Regions from separate parts of the Homo sapiens genome. Here all the other regions are linked to region 1. The links are contacts of gene promoters, found by promoter capture Hi-C in human tissues and cell types (Jung and others, 2019). All regions are on one chromosome and are shown on one strand. Each heading gives the region's core, a stretch centred on a gene start or on the middle of the fragment in contact. The rest is flanking DNA. Distances are from core to core; before and after follow the strand shown.

Evidence for each region. Contacts are between HindIII fragments. The study calls those that stand out against the background at their distance.
Region 2: a fragment that was not itself captured here is called in contact with the fragment with the promoter of S1PR1 in region 1 in 1 of the 25 tissues and cell types used here (liver).
Region 3: a contact is called between a fragment that was not itself captured here and the fragment with the promoter of S1PR1 in region 1, in 1 of the 25 tissues and cell types used here (lymphoblastoid cells).
Region 4: a fragment that was not itself captured here is called in contact with the fragment with the promoter of S1PR1 in region 1 in 1 of the 25 tissues and cell types used here (lymphoblastoid cells).
Region 5: a fragment that was not itself captured here is called in contact with the fragment with the promoter of S1PR1 in region 1 in 1 of the 25 tissues and cell types used here (H1 embryonic stem cells).
Region 6: a fragment that was not itself captured here is called in contact with the fragment with the promoter of S1PR1 in region 1 in 1 of the 25 tissues and cell types used here (lymphoblastoid cells).
Region 7: a contact is called between a fragment that was not itself captured here and the fragment with the promoter of S1PR1 in region 1, in 1 of the 25 tissues and cell types used here (lymphoblastoid cells).

What each region holds. Positions count from the first base shown.
Region 1 is chr1:101,235,769-101,238,468 of GRCh38, reverse strand. It overlaps S1PR1 (sphingosine-1-phosphate receptor 1), which reads right to left and starts at 1,450. Exons shown (of 2, transcript NM_001400.5): 1 at 1,370-1,450. S1PR1-DT (S1PR1 divergent transcript) reads left to right here and starts at 1,941. Exons shown (of 2, transcript NR_104626.1): 1 at 1,941-2,144; 2 at 2,588-2,700. RefSeq lists an enhancer at 2,271-2,360. The HindIII fragment of the contact is 36,645 bases long and covers 1-2,700 here.
Region 2 is chr1:101,085,285-101,087,984 of GRCh38, reverse strand. It overlaps DPH5-DT (DPH5 divergent transcript), which reads right to left. Exons shown (of 5, transcript NR_109849.1): 5 at 606-1,133. Among named protein-coding and RNA genes, the nearest start is that of DPH5-DT, 61 kb to the right of the region's middle. The HindIII fragment of the contact is 4,415 bases long and covers 1-2,700 here.
Region 3 is chr1:101,453,897-101,456,596 of GRCh38, reverse strand. No RefSeq gene overlaps it. Among named protein-coding and RNA genes, the nearest start is that of LINC01307, 130 kb to the right of the region's middle. RefSeq lists an enhancer at 2,564-2,700. The HindIII fragment of the contact is 4,104 bases long and covers 1-2,700 here.
Region 4 is chr1:101,063,484-101,066,183 of GRCh38, reverse strand. The region is part of intron 1 of DPH5-DT (DPH5 divergent transcript); the gene reads right to left. Among named protein-coding and RNA genes, the nearest start is that of DPH5-DT, 39 kb to the right of the region's middle. The HindIII fragment of the contact is 9,338 bases long and covers 1-2,700 here.
Region 5 is chr1:100,999,747-101,002,446 of GRCh38, reverse strand. It overlaps DPH5 (diphthamide biosynthesis 5), which reads left to right. Exons shown (of 8, transcript NM_015958.3): 5 at 860-980. Among named protein-coding and RNA genes, the nearest start is that of DPH5, 25 kb to the left of the region's middle. The HindIII fragment of the contact is 3,285 bases long and covers 1-2,700 here.
Region 6 is chr1:101,428,996-101,431,695 of GRCh38, reverse strand. No RefSeq gene overlaps it. Among named protein-coding and RNA genes, the nearest start is that of LINC01307, 110 kb to the right of the region's middle. The HindIII fragment of the contact is 7,567 bases long and covers 1-2,700 here.
Region 7 is chr1:101,368,946-101,371,645 of GRCh38, reverse strand. All of the region lies in intron 4 of LINC01307 (long intergenic non-protein coding RNA 1307), which reads right to left. Among named protein-coding and RNA genes, the nearest start is that of LINC01307, 46 kb to the right of the region's middle. RefSeq lists an enhancer at 1-5 and a silencer at 179-473. The HindIII fragment of the contact is 5,368 bases long and covers 1-2,700 here.

The DNA.
Region 1 (2,700 bases), core at 201-2,700:
TTTAACTCCACTCCTGCCCTCTCACCACCCCACACCCCCTCACCCCCGGATTTCCAGCCATGAGATTCTCTGAAGCAGTCACCAGCTTAGCTGCACGCTCAATACCAGCCCACGTCTCTCCTCGGAAAAGACTCAACTGCCAGTCTGAGGGCGAAGACACACACCTCTGTCCCCCATGCCCACCCCCAGCCCCCCAGTTCAAAGATACTAGCACCACCTCCTAATTGCCATGTGCCATGCAAGAAATCAGATTTGCAGGAAAATCATTTGAAAGCGTAAGCCATTTGGGGGCTCTATTAATAACTCTCTAGGAGCAGGTGTGCTTAGGGTCCGAGGGCGCAGTGAGGTGTGGGCAGCCAGGCCCGCCCCGCCTTGCTGTAAACAGGAAAGCTTAGCGCCTCCGTGAAGCGACTGCCTTTTCTTTCTTCTTCTTATTCTCCCCGCCTCCCCCCGCGCCCCCCCACCCCACCCCCCACCCCAAGCCAGGGCAAGTAAATTTAAAGGTATTCAGTTAAAACCATTCATAACAGATTGCAGCAAATCCCAGAAGTTTCGTACATTAGTTGATTGCATAAATATTTTTTGCTTTGTTTAGTTTAGCCAAAACATACACAAAAGAGAGAAATCAAACTACTCATGACAGCCATAATACATGCTACCACATTTCTAATTTCGATTGCAAAACTACTCTTCAGAAACTCACATTAAACTGCTCCCTGGTGCATTGCTAAATTTGCGTGGGCAGTTTTATTTACTGCAGTCCCCCAACACGTTGACTCCTCTCCTAGGACTAGAAAGTTACAAAGAAACTTTCTAAGACGGCACTGGTCAGCAGAAGTCTACTTCTAAGTTGCTTAAATATTTCAAGGTAATGCAGCAATGCAATAAAATGAGGTAATAGAGATGAGAACAATCCCAGCAACTCCGCGAACAGCAGAGGCTGCTCAAGCCAAGAAGCTCCGCATTTTCCCCCAACTAATTTTATACCCTGCTCCTGGGCAGTACTAATTTAAGCCATTACCCACGCTCCACACCACCCACCATATTCTTTGTCTATAGGATTTCCAAAATTTAACGCCTTCCCTCCTATTCCTCCGACCAACTGCAATTTTCACTGCCCCTACACCCGTAGGTTCCACAGTTGGGAATTAACCTTTTTTCTGAACTCCATAAATCACAAGTGCCCAAGAACAATCTGATCGAGATGGGCTCCTTAGTAGCCCAGAGATGCAAATTTTCAGCGCCCGGAGATGCATGTTTTCTAAGTTTTTGTTTGCCTCGTTCGACTTAAAAATTCGTTTCTGACACCTAAGCCCTACCACAACCGGGCTCCCCGCGCCCGCGACCCCCGCCATTCGCCGCCCCCTACCTCGCTCAAGCAGGGCGAAGTTGCGTTCGGAGAGCCCGGGATCTGTACGGCTCGCTTCGCATCTTGCTGCTGCCCCCGACTGACTGCGTAGTGCTCTCGCAAACTTACTCGAGTCGGGGTCCCCTCCCTCCGCAGCGGAGCACTCCAATGGCCAGTCCCGCTCGCCGCGGCCAGTTCCCTGCCTGCTACGCGAAGTCACCCAGCGCCGCGCCAAGGCTGGGTGGTTTCTTCAGGAAGAGGCTGGGAGGGGTTAATGCCTTAACCCCCCACGCCCTCTGTCAGCTGGGGGCCCCCGGATCTGAACTGCTGAGACGCACTGTCCAGGAAAGATCTGGGGCAGAAGCAAAAAAAAAAAAAAAAAAAAAAAAAAGAACCCCTCCTCCCCAAACAACAAATGAAAGAAAAAAAGAGAGAGAGAGAAGGGGCGGAGCCCGGTAACCCCTGGATTCTACTGTATAAATCACTGCCCTCGCCCAGATAGACGCTGATCCCTGGCTGTGGAGAGGATTCTCCCGAGCCCCTGAAAAAAAAAAAAGGTGGAGAGACTTTGAAAACTTTTCTCTCGAAAAGTCTGAGGAGGCAGAGGACGGCCCGGAGTCTCGTAGCGCACCGCCCTGGTCCCACACCCCCCGCAGCCCTAGGAGGATCGGTGTGCTGAGCTTGTGGCCAGGAGCTCCCCGAGCCACTTTCGCGCGAGCAGCAGAAAACCTGAGCCGCGGCCCGGCGAGTGTCGGCGGCGCTCTGGGGAGGAGAGGCTGGGAAGGGGCTGCGAGAGGTACGGAGGAGACAAGCAGCCCGGGAGGGAGAATGAACCGGGAGGTTCCTGTACTCCCCCCGCCACCCCAGATCCTCGTGCTACTCGCAACTGCGGTCTGAGGGGCAGTGGCTTTCCCAGAGTGCACAGAGAAATGAACCAGCGCCGGTTTTGGTGTTGGGCGAGGGGTTTCCCTCAGCTGAGCACAAAGTCAGGCTGTGTGTCCCAGATTCTGGCCAATGGAGAGGTCGTTGAGGGGGTGGGCTGCTGCTGAGTCCTGAGAGATTCAAAACGCCTGGGCAGCTCAGGAATTTCCAAAGGGGGAGATTCTCGGCCAGGAGCTGCGGAGCAACTGCAGCTGCCCAGCAGGAGCCGGCACCCTTCTCTCACATTCTGCTTGGGAGTCGACTCAGAGGCCTCAAATCTCATTACTAGCACTTTGCCCACCCTTTTCTTTTGCTTAGATGCTACTTAAGAACGTGAGGCTGAGAGGCGGACTTGGTCAGATCTGCCTGCGTGACAAGCTCAGGACAGGACGCTTCTGCCCTTGCATTACTGTTGTAAAAGTTTCCACCCA
Region 2 (2,700 bases), core at 135-2,634, 150 kb after region 1:
TCTTTTCCCTTTTTAAATAAAGCCCATTTAAATAATTAGCCTTAAATACACATAGCAAGTATCAGCAGAACTGAGATAAGCACGTCAGATTGCCTTATTTCTAATCCACTGCTCTTTTTATATACCACACTCATTCAGGTCTTGGAACTAGCTGCACTGTAATTTTATATTCAATATGCTAATATGATAAGTTCTCTTTGATATGATGGCATATTGTTGATTCAAAATGATAATGTGAGAAATTGACATTGTTATGATGATAGACCATAGTGTTTTTGTTAAGAATCAAGATTTAGTTAGTGGGTCATTTGAGTTTGTTAACCTGTATAGCTAAGAACTAACTCGTGATAGGTTTCTTCTTCAAGATGCAGGTCATGTGAGACTTGGACAGTTCTCTGACTAGGAATTGCAGAAAGGTAGAGCATTAGCCATCACTCTGTGAATGAGGGTTTCTATTAGGGTAAGAATATGAAAAACATTGCTTTTTATGCTATAAGATGCAGGGAGTTCTTGTTTTACTTTACATTAAACAGCTCAAATAAACATGACATACACAGACATAAAAACAAATGAACACTTAAGGACAGACACAAATAATAAGATTATAAAATAGCAAAAGATTTTATAAATAGATTAGCAAGGACTGAAAAATCATATCTGAGATAGTTTACTTGGTAACTAAGTTGTTGGGAATTTTGTAAGAAAAACAGTTAAAGGAATTTTAAAACATAATACATTTTTATTTCTTTAAAAACGTATGACAAAATTTCTTCTGCCATCGGCCATGCTCAGATTTATACATTATAAAATGATTTAATTCCCTAAAGTACAAAAAAGAATGGCTGAATCTCCAAAGAGTTGATAAAGACTGAAGATGTTTATAAGGCATGCTTATGTATACTATTTCAAGCCATCTACAGGACTTGAGACAGGAATGTTTAGTGTTTGCAAAGCCATAGTCACTGAGCCAGACTTTGTGGTGATCCAGAGATCCTTTCATTTCACAGAACTGTCCTTGACGGCTTCTCCCAATAAAGATTTACAACCTTATCTCTTGGCTGTGGCAGTATGAGAGGATCTTCTTTCAGTACATATACTAAAGCTTCATTGGAGTAGCCACGCTTAGGAAGTACCTAGGAAAAAAAATAAAGGAAGATGATGATCACTAACATTTTCTAGGAGTTACATTTTTAATATTATTTCCTATTAAAATTAGGTCTCTTATGTCATGTGGATGACTACTTCATGTAACTAATTTTTTTTAAACACAAGGTTGAAAGCGAATGTATGGTGAATTTATCTAACAGCTAACTGAAAAAACAGGGACATCCTGCGTATAACTGTATAAGGTAACATACGAAGAAAATACAAATGAGATTCAATGAACTCGATGTAGCAGAAAAACAAATGTGTGTTTAAAACAGACACTTTAAGGGAAAAGTACCTAGTATCATTTGTTTACATCATAATAATATTAGTGATTCCCTTCTGAAAATGGCTTTGTATAAGTACATTAATTCTCTTAAGTGTGAAGCAATCCCACTGGAATGAAAAGAAGTTCTGACTGAAGAATTGAAGAGAAATTCAATAACTGGACTAAATATCAAAGGTACTAAGAAGCTGGAGATCTGATCTACTGAATCCTACCACTAATTTTCTGCTCTGTCTTCTATCCCCATTCTCCTTCCAAACCTGTGAATAGACCTAGACATACTAACGCTTCCTACATTTTTTTTTTTTTTGAGTCTCACTCTGTTGCCCAGGCTGGAGTGCAGTGGTGCTATCTCAGCTCACTGCAACCTCTGCCTCCCAGGCTCAAGTGATTTTCCTGCCTCAGCCTCCCAATTTGCTGGGATTACAGGCACGTGCCACCATGCCTGGCTAATTTTTGTATTTTTAGTGGACACAGGGTTTCCCCAGGTTGGCCAGGCTGGTCTCAAACTCTTGATCTCAGGTGATCTGCCCACTTCGGCCTCCCAAAGGGCCGGGATTACAGGCATGAGCCACCATGCCTGGCCATACTAACACTTCTTACATTTTAAAAGAGAGAGAGGACTCCAGAAAATTAGCCTCATTCATTAATTCCAAAAATTGTTGTTTTGTAGCATGTAGTTTGCTGCTTGGTTTTGGTGCCTTTCTTTATGCTGCTAAAGTGTCATGTACTCTGTGGCATTCAGCATTCAGTGTTTGTCAAGTGACATATAAGATGAATTCATAAATAAAAACCCCTGATCAAAGATTAAAGAAATAAAATAAGAATAGCAAAAAAGACTTCTTTCTTTGTAAACATTCACCCATATTATTAATAATAATATAATTGTTAATCCATAATAAGCACCCAGGGAAACTACAATTGGTATAAAGAATAAGATAATTATATAAACAACTATAAAATATGACAGAATATAGGAAGTGAGAAAGTGTTACAAGAATTAATGAGAAATGGGATGGAGGGCTCACTGACTAAAAAGTACTACTCTTCTAGCTGGCTAGGTCAACTCTATCACCATCCTTTTCCTCAAATTCATCAGGGCTTCCAAGCACTCTGTTTCTCCAATTTCTCCCTCTTTTTATTTATCCTCGCCCCTTACTTTAGTTCCAGTACATCTTCAAGCCTATGGGTCATCAATCTCTCTTTTGCTAATATCTCAATTTCCTGTGTCCCATTATTCATGTCACACAGCATCTGGCTTTCCACAG
Region 3 (2,700 bases), core at 93-2,592, 220 kb before region 1:
GGTATGGGTTTCTTTTTATTTCGCATGCTTAATATAAGCATGTTGGGGTTTTGAATCTTTGTATTTCATCAGTTGCAGAAAATTCTGTCATTGGTTCTTCAGATATTCTATCTGCCACATTTTCTCTCTCTCCTTTCCTGCTTGAAATCCAGCTAAACTTTTCACTGTGTCCTCTATATCAATGACCTATTCCTCAATATTTTTCACAAATTGCCCTCTCTGTACTTCATCATAACAAATTTCTTCTGCCACACCATCCAGTGCACTAATTTTCTCATCAGTTCTATCTAATCTACTATTACACTCATTCACTGTGTTCTTTAATTATTGAAATTAGGTCTAGAATTCATACTGTATATGTGCTATTAGTCTTTAGAATGTACAGTTATCTATCACCATTTTTATACTTGATGCTTACTTCCTGAGTAGTAATCATAGTTGTCTCATAGTCTGTGTCTGATATTTCCAGTACAGGTAGAGTATACCTTATCTTAAATGCTTGGGATAGAAAGTGTTTTCAATTTTTTACTTGTTGTATGTTAAAATATTTGCATATACATAATGAAATATGTTGGGGATTTATTTGTGTTTCTCACATACCTTATACATCTATCCTGAAGGTAATTTTATACAATTTTATTTTATTTTTTTGAGAAAGGGTCACACTCTGTCGCCCAGGCTGGAGTGCAGTGGCATGATTATGGTTCACTGCATCATCAACCTCCTGGACTCAAGCAATCCTCCTGCCTCCCAAGTAGCTAGGACTACAGGTGCGCCCTACCACACCCAGTTAATTTTTGTATATTTTGTAGAGATGGGGTCTCACTATGTTGCCCAGGCTGGCCTCGAACTCCTGGGCTCAAGCAATCTTCCTGCCTCAGCCTCCCAAAGTGCTGGGATTACAGGTGTGAGCCACCTAGACTGAGCAGGACTTATTTTACAGCTTAGCTAGTCACCTCTCCCTTTAGGTTCTAAGGTCACATGGGCTGGATCCACATCTCATAGATCCCTTTGTCCCCCACAGCTGGCACATAATAGGTTTTCAATTCATGTTTGCTAAAGTAATGAATTGGGCATTAGCTAAGTCCTGCAGGGCAATCTCCGGGGGCAAAATGGAAATTGAAAGGACAAGTAAATGAGTGCGTGTGTTATTATGTTACAGTCCTGCTACCTTAGGCCAACCTTAAAAACTTTTGAAAAAGAGAAGAAACTGTATCTGCCACCAGGGGACTCAGCTGTACACCTGTTTTGTTTTGTTCTGCCCTGGCAGGTGTGCAGCTGGGAGCATGAAGCTGTCCGAATTCCTGACACAGAAGGCATCTGAAGGGTTAATGGGTCAAGAACTATAGATGACATAAAATATCCTGCTGGAGATCAGCTGTTGGGAGGTTCTCCTTATAGGAATCGTCTTTAGGAGGAGCAGATGAAGTTTTAGAACAAAGAAGCTTCTTGGAATTATTTTCTCTCCCTCTTTGAGGGATAAAGTGGTCTGTGCTAACTTACTTCTTAACTGAGAAGGGATTCGATTCTTGGATTTTCCTCAACCTCTCAATGAGTGGGAATAGAGATCCTGAAATGTAGTTCATGCCTAATTTAAATATATAAATGATACCAAAATCACATTCCCAGCTAGGAATATTGCAGCCAGGGTAAAAGAGTTGCAGCCATAATCCCACTTTACATGCATTTGAAACTTTCTTGTCCTCAAAACACTTCCTCGGCCAGGTGTGGTGGCTCATGCCTCTAATCCCAGCACTTTGGGAGGCTGAGGGGGGCGGATCACTTGAGGTTAAGAGTCCAAGACCAGCCTGGCCAACATGGTGAAACCCCATCTCTACTAAAAATACAAAATTAACTGGGCATGGTGGGGTAGGCCTGTAATCCCAGCCACTCGGGAGGCTGAGGCAGGAGAATAGCTTGAACCCCAGAGGAGGAAGTTGCAGTGAGCTGAGATCACGCCACTTCACTCCAGCCTGGTCAACAGAGACATTGTCTCAAAAAATAAAAATAATAAAAACACTTCCTCATCCATTATTCAGCTTTAACTCACAACCTCCTCTGACATACTGTTTTACATAAAAGCAAATGGAGACCCAGAGATAGTGAGTTGTTCTCCATCAGACATTCAGCAAATGAGAGCTGAAACTAGAATCTGCATGTTCTTTCTCTTAGTCCAGCGGCACTGTGCAAGGGAGGAAATAAATCAGAAATTATGTGATACCGAGGAAAGGCAATAGAATGCTTCTTGAAAGATGAGGACTTTGAGGTGAGCTTGAGGGAAAGAATATTCACAAATGTCAGAGGAATAAAGCTTGGGTATGCAAGAAATATAACATCACTATCACCAAGACGGAATTTCTATTTTTAGCCCCCATCCCACCAGGTGGCATATACGATTCAATTACAGTTTTCTCCTCCTTTTTCCAAGATTGGTTTAATATAGGGAAGGGGAAGCCTACAGGATGTCAAGGCTGTGGGCTGGGGCAGGAAGTGGGTAGAAAGTTGTTCTCATCTCTCCACACTAGCATCTGCTGAGATGCCTTCTTTCCTGTGACTTCAGGAAGAACACCCCTACATATTCTCTGTTTCTCTTCCCTCCCACCTTCTTCTCTCATTTTGTGTGTCTCCTGAGGACATAGAAAACCTTTGGCTGCTTCCTACATGGTGCAAAAGAACTCAACAAGCCACCATCTCTCCTAC
Region 4 (2,700 bases), core at 29-2,528, 170 kb after region 1:
GAATTTGATCAATTTATCTGTAACTGTATACTCAGTATGAATTGTCTCTATTGTGGTATATTAACAGCTAAGGACTAATATGGTAATAGAAACCCCCTGAACTTATACATTCAGAATTTACTTTTTTGAATATCTGATATGCCCTTTGTTACTGACTTAGAAGCCCAAATTTACTTAGTAAAACTGTAGTTTTGTCTCCCCAAATCATCTTGCCTCAAAATCATTGCATTAGAAAAGGCAGTTCTGTGAACACCAACAGATTTAAACATTTAAAAGCCTATATGAAACATATAGCCTATATGTGAACATTTAAAAGCCTATATGAAAATGGGGATGGTAGAGGGGACATGATCCTTCCCATAGATAGTTTTATTCTAGTGGAGAGCCTCAAAGTGAAAGTACTGTTTCCTCTGTAGAGAAATTCTTGTGAGAAAGTCTTAAGCATAGCTAATTAGTTCTGAGTGGAAAAAAAGCGCTCTAAGTTAGGAAACTCATTTCATTGACTATTTAAGGGAACTTTTTATAAAATCAGTTATGGAAATAAATCTGTGGTTGTAATATGTTTATTTTATTTTATTTAAATAAATAAAATTTATTTAAACATTTTGTAATATGTTTATTGATGTTTAGTTAAAGTCATCAAATGCAAGACCAATTATAAAGTTGTGAAGAAAAAGAATATCAAAAGTTTCTAAAACATTTTAATTTAAAAATATCAATTGCACAAATGTTCTAAATAAATGCTTCTACTATCCTTTTTTTTTTTTTTAAACAAAGACAGGGTCTCACTATGTTGTACAAGTTGGTATTGAACTCCTGGGGTCAAGTGAGCCTCCCACCTCACCCTCCCAAAGTGCTGGGATTACAGGCATGAGCCACTGCACCCGGCCCACTCATCTTTCTTTCCCTATTTCTGACAATTATTTGATGCATCTCAGACTTGCCTGTGAAATATTGATATATTAAGTTAGAAATAACCAATCACCTGCTTTGGATTTATATCAGGTATTCTCTTATACTAGATTATCATAGAAACGTAATAAAAGGAACCAAGGGCTTACTTAAATTTATGATAAAAATAAATTTGAGAATAATTTATTAATTAATCCATTTTCCTAGTTAAGTTGCTCTTCCTTGCTATATCCAGTTATTATCTTAGTTCTACAATCTGATTTTTCCAAAATTTGTTCATAGCATTTAACTTTCTCCCTCATATTCATGTACACACACGTGCATGCCCATCTGCACATGTGTACACACACAGAAAAGGGATCCTGGTCAAACCCACTTACCAGCTTTATCTATGACATCATATAAACCTTTCACCCCAGCCATCTGGCTGCCGTTCCAAGTCCTTAATTTTTTTTGAGCACCAAGAAGTTTTAATTTGCAACCTGCTATTGCTTTTAGTTTTAAACTGGCTTGGCATTCTCAGTACTAACTAATACATTTTGGGAATCAGCTGTCATATGAATGTCTTTTGACCTTCAAAATATTAAGAAGGTAGCTGGGTGCAGTGATGTGCGCCTGTAGTCCTAGCTACTCAGGGGGTTGAAGTGGGAGGATAACTTGAACTCAGGAGTTCAAGGCTGGCCTGGGCAACATAATGAGACCCCATCCCACCTCCCCGTCCCCACCAAAAAATTGAGAAGACTGCCAAACTTGGATTAGGTTAAGCAGCAGATATGTCGACACTTCAGAAACAAGGGCTAGAGGCCCGAAGCAGGCTAGTGTTAGGATGACTAACTCATCCTGTTTCACCTGGGATTCTCCCAGTTTTAGCACTGAAATTCCCAAGTTCCAGGAATCCCGAGTCCTGGGCAAAAGGAGACAGTTACCTCGTGAGTGAGAGGTGGAAGAAAACTGAAATGATAGCATCCTGATATTTTGGAGTAGTCCAATGAGCTACTTTGAAAAGAATGGTAAGTGTAGATGTGGTTTTGAGAAGAGTCAGGGCCAGTTAATTTAGCTGGTGAGGCAGGATGGCAATGACTGTAGACAGACATCAGGAACTGGAGCCCAGGAATCTGGACTGGGTTAATGTAGCCTTGGTAAGGAGCAACGTGATACAAAGCCTATGGTGGGAAAGACAGTCCAGGTTCCATTTACTTGATAGTACAGCTGGCAGTGAAATTCTCTCTGACCTGGTGGGAATGAGTTTGCTGATGAAGAGCTTCAGGTTGTATGTGTGAAATACAGTGGAAGATAGACACAGATAAAAGTAAACTCAAAGGAGCTGAAGGTTACATAGCTAAGAAGAGGCAGTGCTAAATTTTAAGCCCAGATCTTTCTGACCCAAAGTGTGTTGCTCAGGCAACCTTTAAATAAAAGGTTATGATATAAATTCTATTCATAGAAATCCTCTATCTAGTAGTAGTTTTGTCAATGTCATTTCCCATTTCCTAGATTATTAAATTCTTAGAGGGTAAAGACTATTCCATATTTATTTTTGTATTTTTAATTAGAAAAATACTCGGAAGACAATAAGCTTTTGATATATGTTGTTGAATTAAAGAAAATTAAATAAGACCTGCACATTCCTACCTCTTTGCCTTTACTCTTATTAGGTGTTTCTGCTTGCACCATAGAATGTCCTTCTTCAAATTCTGTTCAACCTTAAAGCCCAGCTTGAGTTCTAGAATCTTTAGGTCATAGAGATCTCTCCCTTGTCTGAAATCGGCCTCAGCATTGTATCTTTTA
Region 5 (2,700 bases), core at 129-2,628, 240 kb after region 1:
CAACCCTAGGAGTAGGAAAAACAGAATTTTATCACTATTCCTATTTTAGATATAAAATCTTACAGTAATATCACACAGCCAACAAGTTGCAGAGCCAGAATTCAAAAGTAGATTTTCTCACATAAGATTTGAAATTGGACTCACTTAAGTGAGCTAGTTCAGCCAGTCTGGATCAGAGAAGCCAGCTTCTTGGTTGTAGTGATGGTGAACCTGGGTGGGCCACTTGTGGGTTAAAGAGAAGGTTTGGAAAAAGGCCCTCATCCCTGAACTCTATAGTGAGGGAACAAATACAATCTTGCCAAATTAAGGGACTATAGGTTTGGAACAATGACAGGAGTGAGCATATGCTTTGTTTTCTTGAGATAGTGTGATGGAAGGGAGCATTCCCTCAGGCTAGATTTAAGTGTTTATTTTTATATTAGTTAGCTATGTGACTAGCTAAGTCAGTTGCTCTTTCTAAGCCTTGATGGTCTCATCTGTAAAATGAGAACAATATTAACCTTGTGAACCCCGCTCTGATTGCTCAGAACTCTTTTTTTTTTCTCCTGGGTTCTTTGCATTTCAGTATTTTTAGCAACTATATAGCTAAATTATGAAATTGTTACACATGTTCCTATACAGAATGCAGAAATACTAGAAACTTATTACTGAAACTTACTTACTACTAGCATCAGAAAGACACCAGCTACCATGAACCAAAGAGAAGTTCCTGTTACCTTTTTTGGTGACAGATTTGATCCCCAACCCATTTCGAGTTGGATATTCACTTTTTATTTTGGTTGTAAAATGATTAAATTCTCTCCTTATCTATGAAATAGTAGTTAATTGTTCCATCATTAATTAATGTTTTTTTTTCTAGTTATATAAGTTTGGAGAGACAGTTTCTATTGTTTTTTGGACAGACACTTGGAGACCAGAAAGCTTCTTTGACAAAGTGAAGAAGAACAGACAAAATGGCATGCACACATTATGTTTACTAGGTAAGGGTTTTGGAATTTCCTTGAAGTAACAATATGGAACTATCATACTGTTCTCATTTTGATTTTGTGTTAAGGTCTGTGGATAATTAGCTAGAGGTAAGAAAAGACACAGTCTAGCCATTCTATGCAGACCACACTCTTTCCCATGCTCTTAGAGAGACACGCATCTTCTGCTTCAAGTACCACATGGCTATTTCTGCATACACACCATAGTTACACTGCTCCCTCTTATGCCCTGCCCTAGTAGATCCTCTCCAGTATTCCATATCTTACTCATTTGTCCATCAAGGATTTACTGCAATCCAATAGACATGCACTGAGCAAGCCTTACCAAGGACCATCCTGCATCTTCCTAGGGAGGTTCTTTGAATACTGCAGTATTGATGCTATCAGATTCACAATGATAGATCTGAAAGAGACTCTGGAGATCATCTTATTGAGGCCTGTTTTACAGATGAAGTTGAGGCCCAGAATATTGAATTATTTCCCCAATGTCACCTAGTCAATTGTTGGCAGAACTGGTAGAATCAGATAGCCTTTTAATAATAGCTCATTTCACTGTACCTTCTTCCCCAAATCCTATTTCCTTTTTAGTGTGGAAAGAGCTGGGATCACTGTCTTTGTTTTCCAAGATAATAGTACTGAGTTTCAGAAAGCCATGGTGTTTTCTTTCTAGCAGAGGCACTGAAATTTTACCGATTCACATTTGCTAATCAGCCCCTATTCTAGTAGCATATGTTGTAGAAAGAAATACTGGTATCAAAGACTTAATCTGTGACTAAACAGAACACAGCTAACTGACATTTTTGATGACTTTGCAATGATACTTCTACTTGGAATCAGAAGACAAAATCCCAGTGCTACTACTTACTAGTTAGAGAGTACTGTAAACATTCCTTAGCCTTCATATTTATCAAATAGGAATAATTCCTCCTACTTCATGGAGTTATATAGAGCAGTACTTCTCAGACTATTTGTGGTAAAGAACCATGGTTGGGTTGTTTAAAACATATGTTTGATTTTTAAATTTTCGGTCTTTTATGTCAGTGTCAAGTTACTATAAATTTTGTACATATTCTTACTCCTGTAGTTACTTCATCATTTACTGGCAACACAAAGCTCACATACTGGCATTGGTCCTGAGATCATACTTTGAATTGTACTGTGTTACTGAAACTGTGTGTGAAGTCACTCACCAAAATGTCTATCACATAGCACAAGATCAGGGCAGAGAATAAGCCCATGATTTTGGCCTCTGTATATTAAATACAGATATTCAGAATATAAGACAAGATTTCTGTTTGCCACTTTTTTTTTTTCAAGACAGAGTCTCAATCTGTTGCCCAGGCTGGAGTGCAGTGGTGCAGTCTCGGCTCACTGCAACCTCTGCCTCCTGGATTCAGGCAATTCTCCTGCCTTGGCTCCCTGGGTAGTTAGGACTACAGGTTCATGCCACCACGCCCGGCTAATTTTTTGTATTTTTTTTAGTAGAGATGGGGTTTCACCATGTTAGCCAGGGTGGTCTCCATCTCCTGACCTCATGATCCACCCGCCTCGGCCTCCTAAAGTGCTGGGATTACAAGCGTGAGCCACTGCACTCGGCCTTTTATTTTATTTTTATTTTTTTGAGACGGAGCCTTGCTCTTGTTGCCCAGGCTGGATTGCAGTGGCGTGATCTTGGCTCACTGCAACCTCCACCTCCCAGGTTCAAGCGATTCTC
Region 6 (2,700 bases), core at 171-2,670, 190 kb before region 1:
GTAACAATAAAATTTTATGCATCAAATGATAGATAAGAAATGCTCTTCCCCAGGCAGAAAATGGGATCAAAGCAAAGTGTTACTCAAACCTTCAGCCTTTTTAAAAAGCAAATGCTTCTTCATAGGATGAACTAAAATATTTAAGGTTTGGAGAAAATAAGGTCTGGAAAATCCTTTAAAGTTGTTGTTCAATCGCATAAATAAATTATTCTACTGAATAAAAGTTTTAAAACCATTAGTTCTCAGGTTTTTACAAATGATTCTGTGTGTGTGTGTGTGTGTGTGTGTGTGTGTGTGTGTGTGTGTGTGTGGAAATTTTCTAAAGACTTTTTAAATAAAAGGGCCTGTGCATCTTTCATTTTGGAAGGTGACTCTTGATGACAGGACTTGAAGATGCTTCAGTTACTCCTGATCACTCTCATTAGTGAGTTAATAATCACCCTTAAGTTAACCGAATTGACTTACTCAATGACAGTTCCTTTGAGAAAGTTATTCTCCCTGAACCTCAACAACCTAGCCTTAAGGTGGTGATAATAATACTTCCCTTACATTTGGATAATGCTCAACAGCATCTGATATATCACTTACAGATAAAGAGTAACCAGAAAAGATAATTAATGTTACGATGCTGTCTTTACAAGAATAAGACTTTATAACTGAAGGAAGGCAGTAGGGAACGTGTTTAGATCAAATACACATCCCACAGTGTCCTGACATCTCCAGTCAGTTTATTCCTTGGGAGTGGGACTTAAGAAGTTTTTCCCCACACACTGGGACATGTTGGAGGTGTGGGGAGAGGGAGAGCATCAGGATAAATAGCTAATGCATGTGGAGCTTAATACCTAGGTGATGGGTTAATAGATGCAGCAAACCACCATGGCACACGTTTACCTATGTAACAAAACTGCATGTCCTGCACGTGCATCCTGGAACTTAAAATTAAATTAAATTTTAAAAGAAGTTGTTCCCCTTTCTAGCTGATCATCAGAATCACCTGGAGAGCATTTTTAAAAGTAAACATTTAAAGGGAATCTGATAGCCAGATTTGGAAGCACTGAGCTTGAGAATATACCGTAACGACTAATATTCTGGAGGATTTTTCACATATTACTTCTTATAAAGTTCATAACAACTCATGACTTTTTAGGGGCCAAAGCACCTGTAAATATAATCATTTAAAATGAGAAATGGTGTTTTATTGTGGGGAGGGGTTGTGTGTCCTGAGTGTTTTTATTATACAGTAAAACCAAATAAAAAAAATATGGGCATCTGAAAAAAGATGTATAAGTGTCCACGGTATGTGTAGTGTGTGTATAGTACATGTTTATAACAATATTAGAGCTATGTCAGCCCAATAAGACTTTGATGGCCCTTCTTTTTTTGTTGTTATTGTTGTTTGTTTTTAGGATTTCAAAATGGTTGATCGAACTCAGGTTGAGTGTTAAAGAAAATGTTTTAGTTTTAGGCTGGGTGCAGGGGTTCACACCTATAATCTCAGCACTTTGGGAGGCCAAGGCAAAAGGATCCCTTCAGCCCAGGAGTTTGAGATGAGCAACATGGTGAGACCTGATCTCTATAAAAAATGTAAAATTATTCGGGCATGGTCTTGCACACTTGTGGTCCCAGCTACTTGGGAGGCTGAGGCAAGAGGATTACTTGAACTCAGGAGGTCACAGCTGGAGTGAACTGAGATCATGCTACTACTACACTCAAGCCTGGGCAACAGAGCAAGACTCTGTTCAAAGAAAAAAGTAGTTTTAAATGTGAATTCTGGAAGAAAATTCCGTCTGCCAAGCTAAAAGAAAACATCTATCTGTTGAATCATTTAGGAAAACTACTATGATTCTTTAATTTTATATGTAGCATTATGAACTATTCTAAAGGTGCTTATAATCAGAAACCATTAAGGAATTCTTACCTTTCCTCTATAAAATATTTTTAGTTGCTGGTTGGTTTTACTTTAATAGTTTCCATTCTCCTAAATCACCACCTAAATCAGATTTTATTGTAGATGAGAGCACTTAGAAAAGAAAAGAACAGAATTTAAAAGTCTGTGGTTTTTAGTGCATATGCTAAAACAAAATGTTTTATATGGTTACAGAATGAACTTTCATTTTTGAGTCTAGATTATGGGTTATAAGATAATTGCAATGGTTATGTAAAATGTGCATATAAATACACTGCCAGCTTTAAGAAAGATGTGCATTATACCTCATCTAGAGAGTAGACAGTGACCATTTAAGGTCCAAGAGTAAAATACTCTTCTATTATATTCTTAACTCTGGATCCTAAAAATTAGAAAACAGAAAGATCAAGAACATAAAAAGGACACATTCTCTGAGACTAAAAGTAATTCACACAAAATAAATAAGATCATTTGGCACCTAGAAAACATTCTAGAAGCAATTAAGAGACAGTCCATTGAAAAGGTACTCACTGTGAAATTGGATGCTGACATTGTAAAGATGTTCAGAAGGTATTGCAGTGAGGTAGAAAACTAAAATAAGAGTTGAATTTTGGGCCAATGCAGGCACTACAAAAAGGAAAGTTAGAGGACATTATTTTATCAGTTTCCTAAGCCATGTCCAGTGAATAACATAGTCTAGTTTTCTTTTTTAAAAATCCAAATTATGTAATCAAAAAAAAATCTAGAAAACAGAATGAGACTTTAACAGGCTAATATTCATTGGTCAAAGTCAT
Region 7 (2,700 bases), core at 1-2,500, 130 kb before region 1:
ATTGAAAGAGATGTAATAGGGAAAGGAACAGACCAGTCTTGAAAGAAAGGAAGGGAACCAAAGTCAGAGGAAGGAGAGATAGAGGCAGAGATAGAATCAGGGAGGCTATGATTGCAGCTCACCCATTAGCTTCACCTTTCAGGCTCACCCAAAAACAAAATTTGCCCATCAGAGCTCAGAGTAAGGTGTCCTATCAAATGCTCCCAGATATGACTCATACTGAGAAACTGCTCTGGAAATAAACTAAGCCTATCAGTTGCCAAATCTGTGAACCTAGATTTGCTTTCCCATATGACTCAGAGAGGTGACAGAGGCCACATGAATGAGCTTCTTACTATCCTCTCAAACACAGATGTACTGGCCAAGAGAACAAGGGTTTGAACACTTCCAATGCTGAAAAGCATTGTGTGCAAAGAGAGGAACCCTGTTCTCATGAGAGAAAACAGAGAGTGGGTCCCTAAAGATTTAGACTTCTGCCACTAGAAGACAGTGTGGCAGTCAGACAGGGAGAATGGATTATCAGCATAGCTTTCAGTAGGAAAACAGGGCATGCCATTCAATCGAATGATTTTCCTCAGATCTGATGGCCTAGCATGTCCAAAACTTGGATTGCACCCAGGGGTGAGCCAGAATCCTGAATACCATATTTAAAATGATTTAACGTTGGAAAAAAAAAGGACGTGGGGAGAGTTACGTAGCATCAGAGGGCACAGACTACCAGTCTGCATCTGCCCAGATCCAAATGCATGGACAATTCTGATTTCTGCACGTTAGACTTTTGTTGTGATCCTTTGGGAAAAACTCACAAGTGCTATTCATAGCCTTTGATCATATATATATATATATATATCTCGTGGCAAAATAGAAGTTACAATTAAGTGGTGCAATTCAAGAGATAAAGGTCAGACAATGCACTAAAATACTGCTTAATACACAAAGCACTGTGCAAAAGTGCTGATACAGGAGAAATGACTACTGATTAAATCCTGGGCTTCAAATCCCTGCTAATGCCATAAAATTTAATGGATTACAAAGGGAACAGACAAAACACAAGGAAAACTATGGGAAGCACAACTTCAGTGATTTTCTTAATTAACGCAAGTTCAGAAAATATACACTGTTTTTTCTTATTAAGCTAATCCTTTAAAGATCAGAGCAAAATGGCATCTTTATTTATACTTACCTAATGCAGCTTTCTATCCCCTCTTCTTGAGGAGAATTTACTATTCACATAAGGAATAGCCCTGGAGACTTCAGGGCCTTTCCTTTATGGCCAGCATCATTTGGGCTTTGAAAAGTTCAAGCCAAATGTCCCCACAGGCCTCCATCACACTCTCTGCCCTGTGCTATCAATGTGTCCAACAGCAGCAGTGGAGGGCCAGCTGGGGTCACCTCCAGCATATTGTCATTCTCTGTGATTACACAAGGCCTTAAGAGGGACAATCATGGGCAGGTCTTGTTCTCTTTATGCTTTGCTTAGAGAGGAGGATGATTGCAAATGGTCTTCACAACTCCTCTCAGAACACAGCAGAAGGACCATGCCACCCGGGTGATCCAACTGAAACAAGCCTCAACTGTGACTTCACCTTACAAACAAAAGTTCTACTGAAAGGATTACAGAGAGGTAAATCAATGCATAGCCTAGAGAACCAGGCTCAGAAACAAACATGTATCAGGGGAGACAAGGTACAGCCAAGACTGGGCCACAGGAATGGTCTGCTTAGAACTTTGTTCTAGACACCACCACCTCTGGCAGTGCTACAGCTCACCACCATGCTCACACTCCTCCCTTCTCTCCCTCAGAACTTAAGGTCCCGGGCCACAGCATCTATCTGGCAGAGACAGGTCACATGCCTGCCCCCGACCTGCCTGATAGCTGTAGGAGGGGATATCTATTCCTATAGGAAAGAATCCCTATAGCAAAGAATATCCAATTCCATGAACAGGAAGCATATGCAGATGCCAAGCAGCCACAAACTCAAAACTCTTCAATACATTTTCATTGCCTGCAGCATAAAGTCCAAGCCTTTTAACTTGTCATAATTGTAGGGTGAGGATGCCTCCCAGTTTTCCTGAGAGGGTCCTAGTTTTCCATTTTTGCCCTAGGATAATTATTAGTGAGACTGCTTTCACTCTCAAAAGTGTCTTGGCTGGGTGCGGTGGCTCACGCCTGTAATCCCAGCACTTTGGGAGGCCAAGGCCAAGGCGGGAGGATCACTTGAGGCCAGGAGTTCAGGACCAGCCTGGCCAACATGGCAAAACCGCATCTCTATATTAAAAATACAAAAAAAAAAAAAAATAGCCAGGCGTGGTGGCACAGGCCTATAGTCCCAGCTACTCAGGAGGCTGAGGCAGGAGAATTGCTTGAACCCGGGAGGCGGAGGTTGCAGTGAGCCAAGGTCACGCCACTGCACTGTAGCCTGAGTGACAGAGTAAGACTCTGTCTCAAAATAAAAAGCATCTGGGTTTAGAAAAATGGTACAGTCACCCTACCTTTAACACTCTTCATGATAAGGCACCTGCCTACCTTTCCAGCCTCACTCTTCATTATTCCCTGATTCAATTTTATCCACTAGCATAACAAAAATGCTTATGGTTCCTTACATTCAACGTGTTGTTTTTACTTCCAAGTCTTTGCTCACATTTGCTCTCTGTCTGGAGTTTCCTTTACATTACGTCCATCCCATTCTTTAATATCCA